Linked DNA regions of Homo sapiens: region 1 is linked to region 2. The links are contacts of gene promoters, found by promoter capture Hi-C in human tissues and cell types (Jung and others, 2019). All regions are on one chromosome and are shown on one strand. Each heading gives the region's core, a stretch centred on a gene start or on the middle of the fragment in contact. The rest is flanking DNA. Distances are from core to core; before and after follow the strand shown. Region 1 overlaps OSER1 (oxidative stress responsive serine rich 1). Region 2 holds the start of R3HDML (R3H domain containing like).

What was found. The method cuts DNA at HindIII sites, captures the fragments that hold promoters and counts their contacts. A contact is called where the count stands out against the background at its distance.
Region 1: a contact is called between a fragment that was not itself captured here and the fragment with the promoter of R3HDML in region 2, in 1 of the 25 tissues and cell types used here (dorsolateral prefrontal cortex).

The regions. Positions count from the first base shown.
Region 1 is chr20:44,192,823-44,199,739 of GRCh38, reverse strand. OSER1 (oxidative stress responsive serine rich 1) reads left to right here. Exons shown (of 4, transcript NM_016470.8): 4 at 2,001-3,801. The coding sequence ends at 2,688. Among named protein-coding and RNA genes, the nearest start is that of JPH2, 9.1 kb to the right of the region's middle. The HindIII fragment of the contact is 3,940 bases long and covers 2,734-6,673 here.
Region 2 is chr20:44,332,831-44,339,683 of GRCh38, reverse strand. R3HDML (R3H domain containing like) reads right to left here and starts at 2,641. Exons shown (of 5, transcript NM_178491.4): 1 at 2,266-2,641. The coding sequence starts at 2,526. RefSeq lists enhancers at 2,970-3,959, 5,214-5,725. The HindIII fragment of the contact is 19,264 bases long and covers 1-6,853 here.

The DNA.
Region 1 (6,917 bases), core at 3,454-5,953, 140 kb after region 2:
ACTAAGGACTTACATGCACTGTGGCTGTAACTTTCACATTTGAAGTGCAACAGCAAGTCTATCACAAATTTGTTTTTCCTTCTTCACAATTTTTCACATAGGAGATTCGTTCTTACCGTAGATCTTAGCAACCTCAGTATACGATTTATTTTTTTCCTTTCCTTATTAAGTCAAGAACTTTCACCTTTTTACTTAAAGAAAGCTGTCTTAGTTCATTTTCTGTTGCTGTAACTGAATACCTGAGACTGGGTAATTTTTAAAGAGACTTATTTCTTACATTTCGGGAGGCTGGGAAGTGTAAGAGCATGGCACCAGCATCTAGTGAGTGTATCATTGCTGCATCATAACATGGGGAAGGATATCACGTGGCAAGGGGGCTCGTGAGAAGTAGCCAAACCGGCTTTTATAACAGAGCCGTTCTTGTGATAACTATCCCTGTCCCTCAATAACCCTTTAATTCATTAATCTGTGGATGGATTAATCCATTCTTGAAGGCAGAGTCCTTTTGTGACCCAATCACCCCCAAAGGTCTCAGCACTGATGCATTCGGGACCAAGTTGACAACACATGAACTTTTGGGTGACACATTCTAACCACAGCAGAAGCACTTCGTGGCTTTTCTTGGTATACCCAAACTGCTAGCATCACTACTGTTATACTGTGGGGCCATTGTTAAGTAAAATAAGAGTTACTTGAACACAAGCACTGCAGTACCATGGTAGTTGATCTAATAACCAAGATGGCTACTAAATGACTAATGGGTAGGTAGCATATACAGTGTGGATACCCTGGACGAAGGGATGATTCACATCCCAGGTGGGACGGAGCAGGATGGTGCAAGATTTTGTCATGCCACTCACAGTGGGGCGCAATGTAAAACTTATGAATTGTTTATTTCTGGAATTTTTTATTTAATATTTTCAGACCATGGTTGACTGCAGGTAACTGAAACTGTAGAAAGCGAAACCATGGATAAGATGGGATTACTGTGTTCTGTTTAGCTTTTTAGTGTCTTGTTTGGTTCTTGTCTCTAATTCACTTAGCAGTTTTGAGTATCTTTTCTTTTCATTCAGTTCTTTATTTAATTTTATTTTATTTTATTTATTTATTTATTTATTTTTGAGACGGAGTCTCGCTCTGTTGCCCAGGCTGGAGTACAGTGGCGTGATCTCAGCTCACTGCAAGCTCTGCCTCCCAGATTCACGCCATTCTCCTGCCTCAGCCTCCCAAGTATCTGGGACTACAGGCGCCCACCACCACGCCCGGCTAATTTTTTGTATTTTTAGTAGAGACGGGGTTTCACCGCTTTAGCCAGGATGGTCTCAATCTCCTGACCTCGTGATCCACCTGCCTCGGCCTCCCAAAGTGCTGGGATTACAGGCGTGAGCCACCGCGCCTGGCTATTTAAATATTTTATAAATAGTTATCTTACATAGTGTGTCCAGTAATTCCCAGTATCTGAAAACCTCAGGGGTTGTAAATATTGTTAGTTTTTTGGTTTTGATTGATTGGCTGTTACCAATGATAGAAATGAATCAGAAATCTATTTAATAGTAATGGCATAATGGTCATTTGTAACGTTAGCCTCACAGTGGTTCTGAAGCTGCTATATTCAGGTTTAGGGCACAATATTTAGGCTTCACAGGATCGGTTTCAGTTGTATGTTTGAGGTGCTTCCCTCAGACCCACTGGTCAAAGGCTCCCAAGCTTAGAGTTGGAACAGGGCAGGTGTTCTGTCCCAAATGTTTGGCCCAGGTGATTCAGTTAAAAAATACCATTATCTCACCTCGTTCTATAGCTTGCTAATAAGATGATGTTGAAGTTGTTGAGACACAAAGACTTAGGCAGCATGAAAATGGAGGAAGGTGCATCTCTTGCAGGAAATTTATGAGCTTAGACTCATAAAGCTGAGGGAAGGTAAATTTCCTACTGTCATAAAGAATCTGTTTAGGACAGCTCCATATCCCAACATCTTCTTGTATATTTTTTTTCCTCTTTAGGTCTACAAGGAAGTCTTCACGAGGAGCAGTGAGAACTCAGCGTCGTCGACGTTCTAAGTCTCCTGTCCTTCATCCTCCAAAGTTTATACATTGCAGTACAATAGCGTCTTCTTCCAGCAGTCAACTCAAGCACAAAAGCCAGACTGACTCACCTGATGGCAGCAGTGGGCTGGGAATTTCATCCCCTAAAGAGTTCAGTGCAGGAGAAAGCTCTACTTCTCTCGATGCTAATCACACAGGGGCAGTCGTTGAGCCTTTGAGAACTTCTGTTCCAAGGCTCCCATCAGAGAGTAAGAAGGAAGACTCCTCTGACGCTACCCAAGTCCCCCAAGCAAGTCTCAAAGCCAGTGATCTCTCTGACTTTCAATCAGTTTCCAAGCTAAACCAGGGCAAGCCATGCACATGCATAGGCAAGGAATGCCAGTGTAAGAGATGGCATGATATGGAAGTGTATTCCTTTTCAGGCCTGCAGAGTGTCCCTCCCTTGGCTCCAGAACGAAGATCCACACTTGAGGACTACTCTCAGTCGCTGCACGCCAGAACTCTGTCTGGCTCTCCCCGATCCTGTTCTGAGCAAGCTCGAGTCTTCGTGGATGATGTGACCATTGAGGACCTGTCAGGCTACATGGAGTATTACTTGTATATTCCCAAGAAAATGTCCCACATGGCAGAAATGATGTACACCTGATAGCAAGAAGCTAATTCATATGCTTTAAACCAATGAAGGCTTGTCAAAGAGATTTAGTTAATGGCAGACCTTGTGGCCACTTTGTGTGAGAAGACATCTCTTTCTGCTCACTGTGCTTGCAATAAAAACTTTTCTTGGCATCTCAGTTAATCTTCATTCTTTCAACTTACTCTCTTGAGTTCTTACATACACTTCAAGGCGAGCAGATCAAAGAAAAATCCCCCTTATTTAGAAATGTTCCTGGGGGATGAAGAAACCATAATTACTTGAGACTGGCAGCAGTGGGTATATGGTAAAAGCCTTTGTAAAACAGTGCATTTTTCAGATTTGTTTAAGGTTTGCTAGCCAAGGAAAGTAAAATGTGATTTTGTAACTGCACTAAACATTTGTCATGCTGTAGTTGCCAGCCCAGAATATTAGAAGTTACAAGACTGATTTAAACCGTCTCTGATTTAATGCAAGATATATTGTGTCTATAAAGGTTTCTCTTGTTATTGTTAAGCCAGAGATCTAAGGTTTAGATTCAATTTGAATAAACTAGCTGGCCTGCCCTCTATTGTTTGAGAGAGTTATTAACCATCACTAAATAAGCCCCTGCTGGTGCTATTCATCCTAAGACATGTTACATGCAGTTTCAAGTAAGCAGCTTGGAATGGGCTGCTTCAGTTGGAGGGAGGGGGTGTAATATTTGAAACGAGTGTGTGTCTTCACCATCTCCAGCATTTTAAATATATGGCGGTTTTTTTTTTTTTTTTTTGTTATCAGTTGTAATACAGGTCTCATACCTCAGTTTCAGATGTTATAGATGGTTACCTCTTTGAGCTGCCCTGTCACCCCAGCAACCCTAAAAGAGAATTTTGTACATTCTGTATCCCACAGATTTGGTCAGCCATTTCAAAATTCCCTCCAGTTTGGTAAAAAAAAAATCTGTCTTCGGTTTCAGCTGGATGATGAATCCTTGTTTTTCAGGTGGCTCCAAAAAGAATGTTGCATGTGTTCAGACCATCCTGAGCAGAGCCACCAAATTTAGTGACAGTGTCTAGCCATGTTAGCAATAATGTTAACAGAAGCTTTTGTTTAAATTACAAAATACATTTATACTATTTACTAAAACTGCGCTGGCTGTGGTTGATTCATGATAATGGGATGTGGGCTTCAACAAATAGGTGATTTGTACTTGGGGGAGAGGGGAAGGGTGTTTACTAGAAAAACCCTAAGCTTAAGTAGTAGTGGGAGTCCTCTGCTGGTCATTGGTTTGGTGTGGATTTAGTGACATCTGAAGGCTGTGGTTAAAGCAAGGGAGCAAAATACCTTATCACAGTTCTAGAAGCTGTGACAGATATTTCCTGATAATGGTGACAGAAGGTACACTATTTAGTATATCTAAGGCAGAAATTCTCAAACTTTTTGTAAGCACTTCCTTTACACTGACAAATTCAGGACCCAAAAGGTTTTGTTATAATCTCCAAAAGGATATAAATATTTACCATGTTAGAAATTAAAACTAAGATTTTTTTAAATATTTAAAAACTCATTACAAGCTAACAAAATTTTTGAATGAAAAATAGCTTTTCCAAAACAAAAAATAGAAGAGTGGCATTGTTCTACCTTTTTGCAAATCTTTTTTAATGTTTGGCTTAATTAGAAGACAGATTCTCATATGTTTCTGCATTCAGTCTCTGGGATATCGCATATTGTGTGGTCTCTGGCAAACTTTTGTACACTTGGGAGAATGAATGTGAAAAAGGCAACTACAGGTTGAATATTCCTTATATGAAATGCTTGGGACCAGAAGTGTTTCGGATCTCAGATTTTTTTTAGATTTTGAAAGATTTGCATTACATGCTTATCAGTTCAGCTTCCATAATCCTAAAAGCCAAACTGCTCCAATGAGCATGTCCTTTGCTCCTCATGTCAGTGCTCAAAAAGTTCTGGATTTTGAAGCATTTCAGATTAGGGACCCTCAACCTGTAATGTTTTAGTACCATGTAAATAATTTTGACCTCAGATTTCCTAAAAGGGCCTCAGGGATTCCAGGACCAAAATTTAAGCTTCTGGTTGTAAAGGTACCACCCCGCTTTCACCTCCACAACTAATGTTTTGGCTCACCTTTAAAAAAATTAAAACTGGGCCGGGCACGGTGGCTCACGCCTTTAATCCCAGCACTTTGGGAGGCCGAGGCGGGCGGAACACAAGGTCAGGAGATCGAGACCATCCTGGCTAACGCGGTGAAACCCCGTCTCTACTAAAAATACAAAAAATTAGCCGGGCGTGGTGGCTGGCGCCTGTAGTCCCAGCTGCTCAGAGGCTGAGGCAGGAGAATGGTGTGAACCCAGGAGGCGGAGCTTGCAGTGAGCCAAGATTGCGCCACTGCACTCCAGCCTGGGCAACAGAGCGAGACTCCGTCTCAAAAATAAAATAAAAGCTGTAGAGGAGTGGAGCTATTGTAATTAAGTAGTGAGCTATTCAAGTTCATGTTAAGTGGGCTTAACATGGGCTTAACATGTTCTTTGAATTAAGGCGAGTTCTTAAGCCTTTAAATCCCTTTTAGTTTGTTTTTCAAGCCAGCGCTCTGGTTATTTACTTAGTGCTGTATATTAGTGCAGCAGTCACCAGAGAATGATGATACGTATTCTTTTCATATGAAGGTGTTAGGAGGGTGTAAGTATTGAAAAGCACAAAGTTCCAATGACCTAGTAACTCAAAATCCAACTTGCATGAAAGTTTAGGCATTCCAGATTTGTGGGAATAAGTTGTAAGTTATCTACATCTCAGCAAAATCTTCCTCAAAACATGAATCTTGAAGTTAAAAATTACTCTGCTCAGACCTAATTGGCCCAACTTTAACATTAGGGTCCCTCATTGGGATATTTGACGTTCTTTTGTGAATGTGATGTACCAAACTAATCTCCTTTCTCTGATACATCTAGGAAAATGGATTTGGTTTGTGGATTGAGGGATTAAGTCTCACTCTGATGTTCCAAAAAAGTAACATCCTGATTTCCACATGCCTTTATTTAACAAGTTTTCATTGAACGTTCATTCATTCATTCATTCATTCATTCATTCAATAAATATCAAGTGCTTACAACACACCAGGGACACTGTACTAGATTCTGGGAATGGAACAGTAAGCAGAACAATATCCTTGTCCTCAGTAGAGAGAGGTGATGAACATGTAAGTTGTATGGAGAGAAAAAGAATTAGGAGATAGGAAGGGGTGGGCCAGGGATAGGGTTGCTATTTGGGGTGGGCAGAGAAGATGCTGTGATAAGGTGACATTTGAGCAGAGACCTGAAGGAAGTAAGAGAGTGAGCCATGGGGGCATCTGAGGGAGGGGCATTCTTGGCAGAAGGAACCACAGGGATGTCAATGCAACTTGAGCAGGTGGGGTCAGAGAGAGATGAGTAGGGCCAGATCATGGAGGGCCTGGTAGGCTATTTTAAAGGTGTTGGCTCTTTGGCTCTTACTGTGAGAGATAGGGAGTCATTTGGGGAAGCAGAGGAGAGAGACATGACCAGACTTAACTTTTTTTTTTTTTTGAGACAGAGTCTTGCTCTGTCACCCAGGCTGGAGTGCAGTGGCACGATCTCAGCTCAGTGCAACCTCCACCTCCCGGGTTCAAGCAATTTTTGTGTCTCAGCCTCCCAGGTAGCTGGGATCACAGGTGTGCACCACCATGTCTGGCTAATTTTTTTGTATGTTTAGTAGGGACAGAGTTTTGCCACTTTGGCCAGTCTGGTCTCAAACTCCTGACCTCAGGCAGTCTGCCCACCTTGCCCTCCAAAAGTGCTGGGATTACAGGCATGAGCCACCATGCCCAGCCGAGACTTAACCTTTTGAAAGAGCACTGGCTACTATGTGCAGACTAAGGGAAGGCAAGGAGGACAGTTAGGAAGCTACTTCAGTGAGTCAGGCAATGGGTTTGGTGGCTTGGGCACTTGGCAGTGCAGGAGATAATATGTGTTCTGGAAGGTTTTTTTTGTTTTTGTTTTTGTTTTTGTTTTTTTTTTTAGACAGAGTCTCGCTCTGTTGCTCAGGCTGGAGTGCAGTGGCGCGATCTCAGCTCATTGCAGTCTCCACCTCCCTGTTCAAGCAATTCTCCTGCCTCAGCCTCCTGAGTAACTGGGACTACAGGTGCATGCCACCATGCCTGGCTAATTTTTGTATTTTTAGTAGAGATGGGGTTTCGCCATGTTGGCCAGGCTGGTCTCGAACTCCCGACCTCA
Region 2 (6,853 bases), core at 1,392-3,891:
GCTTCTTGTGTCCTCTGTATACAGGTATATATTCTATACCTGTACAAGCAGCTCTCTATATATACACACACACACAGACACACACACACACACACACACACACATATATATAGGCAAATGGCAGCATATTCTATTCTGCACCTTGCTCTTTTGTCTTAGTGATTATTCCCCATCACTACATGGTGAATGCCCTCCTCATCCTCCTTAACAGTTTTGTAATTTTCCAATGTATGAATTCTCCAAGTTTTATAACCAGAAAATATGTCATTAAAATACTAGTTCCCTTCCATCTCTGACTTCCTGGGATTCTCTGAAATAGGATTTGTTCATTCATCAAATATCAAACAACATCTCTAGGCACTGAGGACTCAGGGTAGCAAGGCAACAAGGCCTTCAACAAGTCATTGATTATTACAGTCCTGGTCGGTGTGAGAGTGAGAAATGGGAGCCAAACTTTCTTGCGGCAGTGAGAGAAGGGCTGCTAGGGCAAAGGCTGTCGAGTTGGACAGCCTGTTCTGTGAGTAGAAGTCAGCTAGGGAGGGAGAAATGGGGCATCCAAAGAGGGGTCCAGGTATCTACCAGGGTTGTCTGGCCCAATATTTTTTTTTTTTTTTTTTTTTTAGATAGAGTTTCACTCTTGTCATCCAGGCTGGCTGGATCTCGGCTCACTGCAACCTCGGCCTCCCAGGTTCAAGCGATTCTCCTGCCTCCACCTCTCAAGTAGCTTGGGATTACAGGCGCTCATCACCACACCCAGCTAATTTTTGTATTTTTAGTACAGACTGGGTTTCACCATGTTGGCCAGGCTGGTCTGGAACTCCTGACCTCAGGTGATTCACCCACCTCGGCCTCCCAAAGTGCTGGGATTACTGGCGTGAGCCACTGCGCCCGGCTCTCTGGCTCAGTCTTTTAGGGAGAGCAGAGGAGTGCTTCCCTCATGCTACAAAGGGGTAAAGTGAGGGAAGGAGCAGGCTAAACATCAAACCTACATGTTCAGGCCCTCCCTGGAGTCCCTGGTGAGATATTGAACCCTCTCTGCTCCATGCCGCCTGCAATCATTAAACACCTGTTGGGGCAGGTGCCACACACGCACAACGGGTGCTCAATAAATGTGCCATTTGTTTGAAAAATGGAGGGCATTCTAGGTGCTAACGAATGAATGAACAAGTCAATGACTCCCCTGCACTCTAGCTGCCTGCCATCCCGGCTCTTATTCCCGCCCCTCCCAACACTGTATTGCCTCCTCACGTTATCTTATGTACATTAATATCTTGTTGTTCATGCTTGTTTTCTCTTATTCCCACTAAAATGTCACCTTCGTGAAGGAAGGGGCCTTGTCTATTCTGTTACCAGCAGTATCCACAAGGCTTAGCACGGTGCCTGGCTGCAAGTGTACTCCAAGTATAAGTCAATGGATACGATGAAAAAGTTAAGTTTTCAGGCTATCGAGTGGCATGTGTTGGTCTTTCAGGGGGCAGACTGGCAAACTCTTTCCCTAAAGACATCTCTGGGTGGGCTGGAAACCCATCCCTCTAGGCTGGTTTTGGACAGTGGCCCTGGGGGAGGAGCTGTAAGCAAAAGGTTGGTGCCCTCCTTTGACTTCTTGGGGGCTGGAGTGAGAGCCACCAGCCCTGCCTCTTTGAGGGGAGACATCCCAGCTTCCTCTGCTGGTCAGCTGTTGGTTTTCCTCAGCCTGAGATTCCCCAGTACCTGTCCCCACTGCTCCAAGCCTGCCTCCAGGGGCTTGTGGAGGATGCTGTGGGTGTGTCAGTCAAGACCTTAGGGTAAAGAGACAATAGCATAGAAAGCACCAGCCACGCACCCCATGCAGGTCCCCAGTGTGGGGAGCCAAAATTCTTGGGTAGGGGATTGTGATGGTTACAGTTGTGATGGTGCCAGGTGGCAGCAGGCAGACCTGGATTGAAATCCTGGCTGGGCAAATTAATTCTCTGAGTCTCAGTTTCTTCCTCTGGAAAATGGAGATGATACTCACGTGCAGTGCCTGGCGCACAGTGGTGCTCCTTACATAGTAGTCACATGCCTGACTCACTGGAACAGCTGTGCAACCTTCTTGGTTTCCTCATCTGTAAAATGGGCAGATTAACTCCTGCCCTTTCCACAGGTCGACACCCAGATACTGGCTAGTGGGGCCAGGCAGGCAAGTGGTCCAGCTCTTCAAAGCCAGTCATTCTAGGCCAAGATGAGTCCGGCTGCGTTTGCCGGAAGGGACACTGCGGGGGGTGGGGGGCAGGTACGGGGACTCACCATGTATTCCATGTTGGCGGCAGGTGGGTACACACTGGCCCGGATGTGGTTGTGATAATCCAGTAAGGCATTCATGTCTCTCACAGAGATGTGGCGCTTCCGGCGGTACCTGGGCACCTCCAGGCCACTCAGGAGCCGCATAGCCGTGCTCTCGGGCTGGGCCGGGGCTGGGGTAGCATTAGGCATTATCAAGGCGTTCACTGCCTGGCCAGCCCAGAAGAGCAGGCCTGCCAGGCCCACGGTGCTGGGCAGCAGGGGCATAGCTGGATGGAGGAGTCACAGGTCTGCCTTGTGCAATCAGAGCCGGCTGCCTGGAAGGGGCAGGCACGAGAGCACCAGACCCTGAGCGTTCTCCAACAGTGCCGACCCAGAGGATGCTGCCTCCTGGGAACTTGGCAAAGACCTCCAGATGCAGCTCTGGTCCAGATGCCCAGCACCCCTTCCTTTCCACCCCAGGGGACTGAGTGGGTTGGGCAAGGGGAAGAAATGCCCAGACAGTGGCTAATCCAGACATGGCCCTGGGGTGAGATGGTGCCACCACTTCAAAGCCAGTGCTCTGTCCCTCCAGCCCAGGAGACAGACAGCAGCCCTCTCCAGTCTAGACATCCTCTTCACCAATCCTGCTGGAGCGGGCTCAGTCAATGCCCTCGGAGGGCAGGGCCCACCTTACCCCAAGTCATATTGCAAGGTCCTTTTGTCCCTGCTTTGCTGCAATTTAGGAATTGAGAATGAGACACAGAGAAAACCCAATGGCAGAGAATGAAAGAGGCAGAGAAAAAAGAGAGACCAAAAAGGGGACAGAAAAAAAGAGTTACAGAGAAAAAAGAATGAGAAATAGAAAGGTAAAGAGATAAGAGAGAATGAGAGAGAGGCAACAATGTGGCTGGGGGAGGACAGAAATAGACAGAGAGAGGGGCACAAACAGAAGAAAGAGCGAAAAATCGACTTAGAGAAGAGACAGAGAAGCACGAGAGACCAGGCAGGAGGCTCCAACGGTGCGTACCCAGGACGGGCAGCCCAAGCGGTGGCAGGCGGCAGCCCAGGAGGCCGGGGACCTCTGCAGACACCCTGGCCCACCTGGCGGCGCAGCAACTTTAACGGTCCCCTGGTGCTGTTGGCATCTGACGTCCCTGGCCCCACAGCCCCCTCCCCTTCCAGCCAGGCCAGACTCCTGCAGGGAGGCTCCGCCTGCTGCTTGATGGGCTTTTCTCTCCCGCCCCTCTCTCTCTGCTTTCACCTGAAGCATGTAGGGCTGGGCTGGGCAAATGGTCAGGGTAGTGATGTGGCAACAGGGCAGGGATTCCAGGAAAAAATACTCATCCCCTATGGGAGATCCCAGACCCCGAGGCTTCTCTCTGCCTTCCACATCCTGACATATTAAGGCCACCTTGCATCTGGAGAGTATTTTCTGACTGTTTTCCCTATAACACCCTCCAGCCTTGGAGCAGACAGTTAATATGGCCCATCTAGTGAGCCCCTGCTATGTGCCAGGCCCAGGGCTGAGTGCTTTACACAAAAGCCCAGCCAACCTTCAGAAGCAGGTACTATAGCTCCCCATTTCATAGATGAGGAAACTGAGCCCCAGAGAGGAGAAAGAACAAGCCCAAAGTCAAGCCAGCCAGTCTGCAATCACGCCAGGATTTAAGTCCAGATCTGACCCCAGGCCTGGTTAGTATCTAAAAGGATGCCTTTTCCTTTTCCTTTCCTTTTTTTTTTCTTTCTGTTTTTTGTCTCACTTTGTCGCCCAGGCTGGAGTGCAGTGGCGCAATCTCGGCTCACTGCAACCTCGATTCTCCTGCCTCAGCCTCCTAAGTAGCTGGGGCTACAGGTGCACACCACCACACCTGGCTAATTTTTGTATTTTTTAGTAGGGATGGGGTTTCACCATATTGGACAGGCTGTCTTTCTTTTTTTTTCTTTTGAGACAGAGTCTCGCTCTGTCGTCCAGGCTGGAGTGCAGTGGCACAATCTCGGCTCACTGCAACCTCCACCTCCCAGGCTCAGGTGATCCTCCCATCTCAGCCTCCTGAATAGCTGGGGCCACGGGCACGCACCACCATACTTGGCTAATTTTTTTGTATCAGCCAAAGATGCCATTTTCTAACCAAACCAAATATAGATGCATAAGGAAAAAAGCCTAGGGTGATGTTCGTTATGATGCCACTCAAACACAGCCTATTCATTAGCAAATGAATTAAGCCCACAAATCTGGGTTCAAATTTCCCTTATCCCACCCCCTCACTAACTAGGTGTTGGGCACGTTACTCAACCATTGTGTGCCTCATCTGTAAAATGGGAGAAATAGCGGTGCCTACCTTGTAGCATTACTGCGAAGATGAAATGAGTGAACATTTGTGGAGCCTTAGTACAGTGGCTGGCACACTGTGTGCACTCTAGGAATGTGTGTGTGAATGTGTTTGTGTGTACGTGTGTACTTGTGAGAGTATGTATGCACTTGTGTATGTGTGTGCAAGTATACTTACATGTGTGTGTGTTTGAGTGTTCTTGAGTCAAATGTGTCCCCAGGTGAATGTATGAGTATGTAGATAATGGACGTGTGTGCGTGTGTGTGTGTGTGTGTGTGTGTGTTTAAAGTCTCAGTCTCTGAGTTGCTGAAGTCCTAGGTTAAGAAAGAGTTCAATTTTCTCCTCTTTCATTACTTGTATTCCCCAAAAATAAAATGCATTACTTTTGTAATAGAAGGGGATAGACTTACAACAGAAAGGTGTTATATAAAAAACACAGGTGAAGAATTTGCAATCCTCAGACTACTCTTCTAGCAAGCTCTGAGGATTCCCAGGCTGAACCTAGTCTCGGGGCAGCAGGCCAAACCCTGGGCCAGCTGGCGAAGCAGGGCTGGGGGCTGGGACTGGGCTACTCCAGACGGGTCCTCTCCAGACATGTGGAATTCCCACCACAGGCAGCCCAGACAGTGCGGCTGCCAAAGCACACACCTTCCTGCTGGAGCAGTGACCTTCCTGCTGGATGCTGGGGAAGGTGGGGAGGGCAGAGCAGTGAGGGGTGAGGGCTGCGACCCCTGACCCCTATGGGGGCTCTCCCACTATGCCAGAAGGACAAGAGAGACTCGTTCGATCTAGCCCCGTCTCTGCCTCCAGTGTGCTGGGTGTCTTAAGGCAAGTTCTTATCCTTCTTTGGGCCTTGGATGCCCCACTGAAGAAACTGAACTGAAATTGCTGCCCCCACTGAAGAAGGCTGTTCCCAGTTTCTCTTTGATAGGTTCCCAATTCTGGCTCTTCGGACAACAACAGGTGGGATCTTCGATACACCAGGGCAAATTCTGCAGCCCAGGGAAGGCAGACACAAACAGCCATGGCACTTAGGAACCCAGGAGTGTCAACAAGTAAGCCCGGCTCTCTCAGAACGCATAGCACAAGCCACTCCTATGTAACTGGCACTTTGCACTGGCTCAGAACTTCACATCCTCAATTCACTTGGGCCTCACAGCTCCCTTTGGGGTAGTGACTCCACCCATTGTATAGATGAAGGAACCGAGGCACACGTGAGCCTCAGTGACTTGTCCTAGGGATGGAGACTGTTTGTGTGGTAACCTGGGTCCTGGCAGTGAACGTCCTTGCACATGTGCAGAAGGCGCAGGCATCTGCTGTACACACAACACATGTATGTGCACACACACACACACGTTTGTGCACACACTCATATAAGCACATCCCCTCCCACAAATCACAGAGAGCTCGTCCCCGCCAGGCCCTCATATCCTCTCCATTGTACACCACAGGTGTCCTGTATAAATATACAGAAACCCACAGGTTACACACTTAAGCATGTCTACTACATATAAGCTGATGGTATTAGCTACTTTCTCATAAGTGGCCAGCACTGTTTTAAGCACATTACATGGGCAATCTCATTTAATCTTCAGAATAACCCTATTATTATCATCATCCACATTTTTATATACATGAAGAAACTAAGGCACAAAGAGGTGAGTCATTTGCCCCGGGTCACACATCCTGTGGGTGGGAGAGGTGGGACAGGCACCCCCATACTGCCTCTCCACAGTGTTGAGAGACAGACAACGAGGAAGACCCCACAGTCCAGCCACACAGACAAGACCACCATCGCCTACTCCACACACTCATGCATCCACAGAAACACAGAAATTCACTCTCGTAGCAAACACACAGCCACATCCCAGTCAGACCCTCTCTGCTGCCCCCATTGAAGAAAGCTGGTCCCAGTTGCATTTTGGCAGGTTTTCAATGGGTAAAATATTAGGGGTGGGGTCAGGAAATAATCAGGGGTGACCCAAATTATTTTTATTTATTTATTTTTATTTTATTTTATTTTGAGATAGAGTTTCACTCTTGTTGCCTAGGCTGGAGTGCCGTGGCACAATCTCATCTCACTGAAACTTCTGCCTCCCAGGTTCAAGCAATTCTCCTTCCTCAGCTCCCAAGTAGCTGGGATTACAGGCACCCACAACCGTGGCCTGGCTAATTTTTGTATTTTTAGTAGAGATGGGGTTTCACCATGTTGGCCAGGCTGGTCTCAAACTCCCTCCCAAAGTGTTGGAATTACAGGTGTGAGCCACTGCGCCTGGCCTATT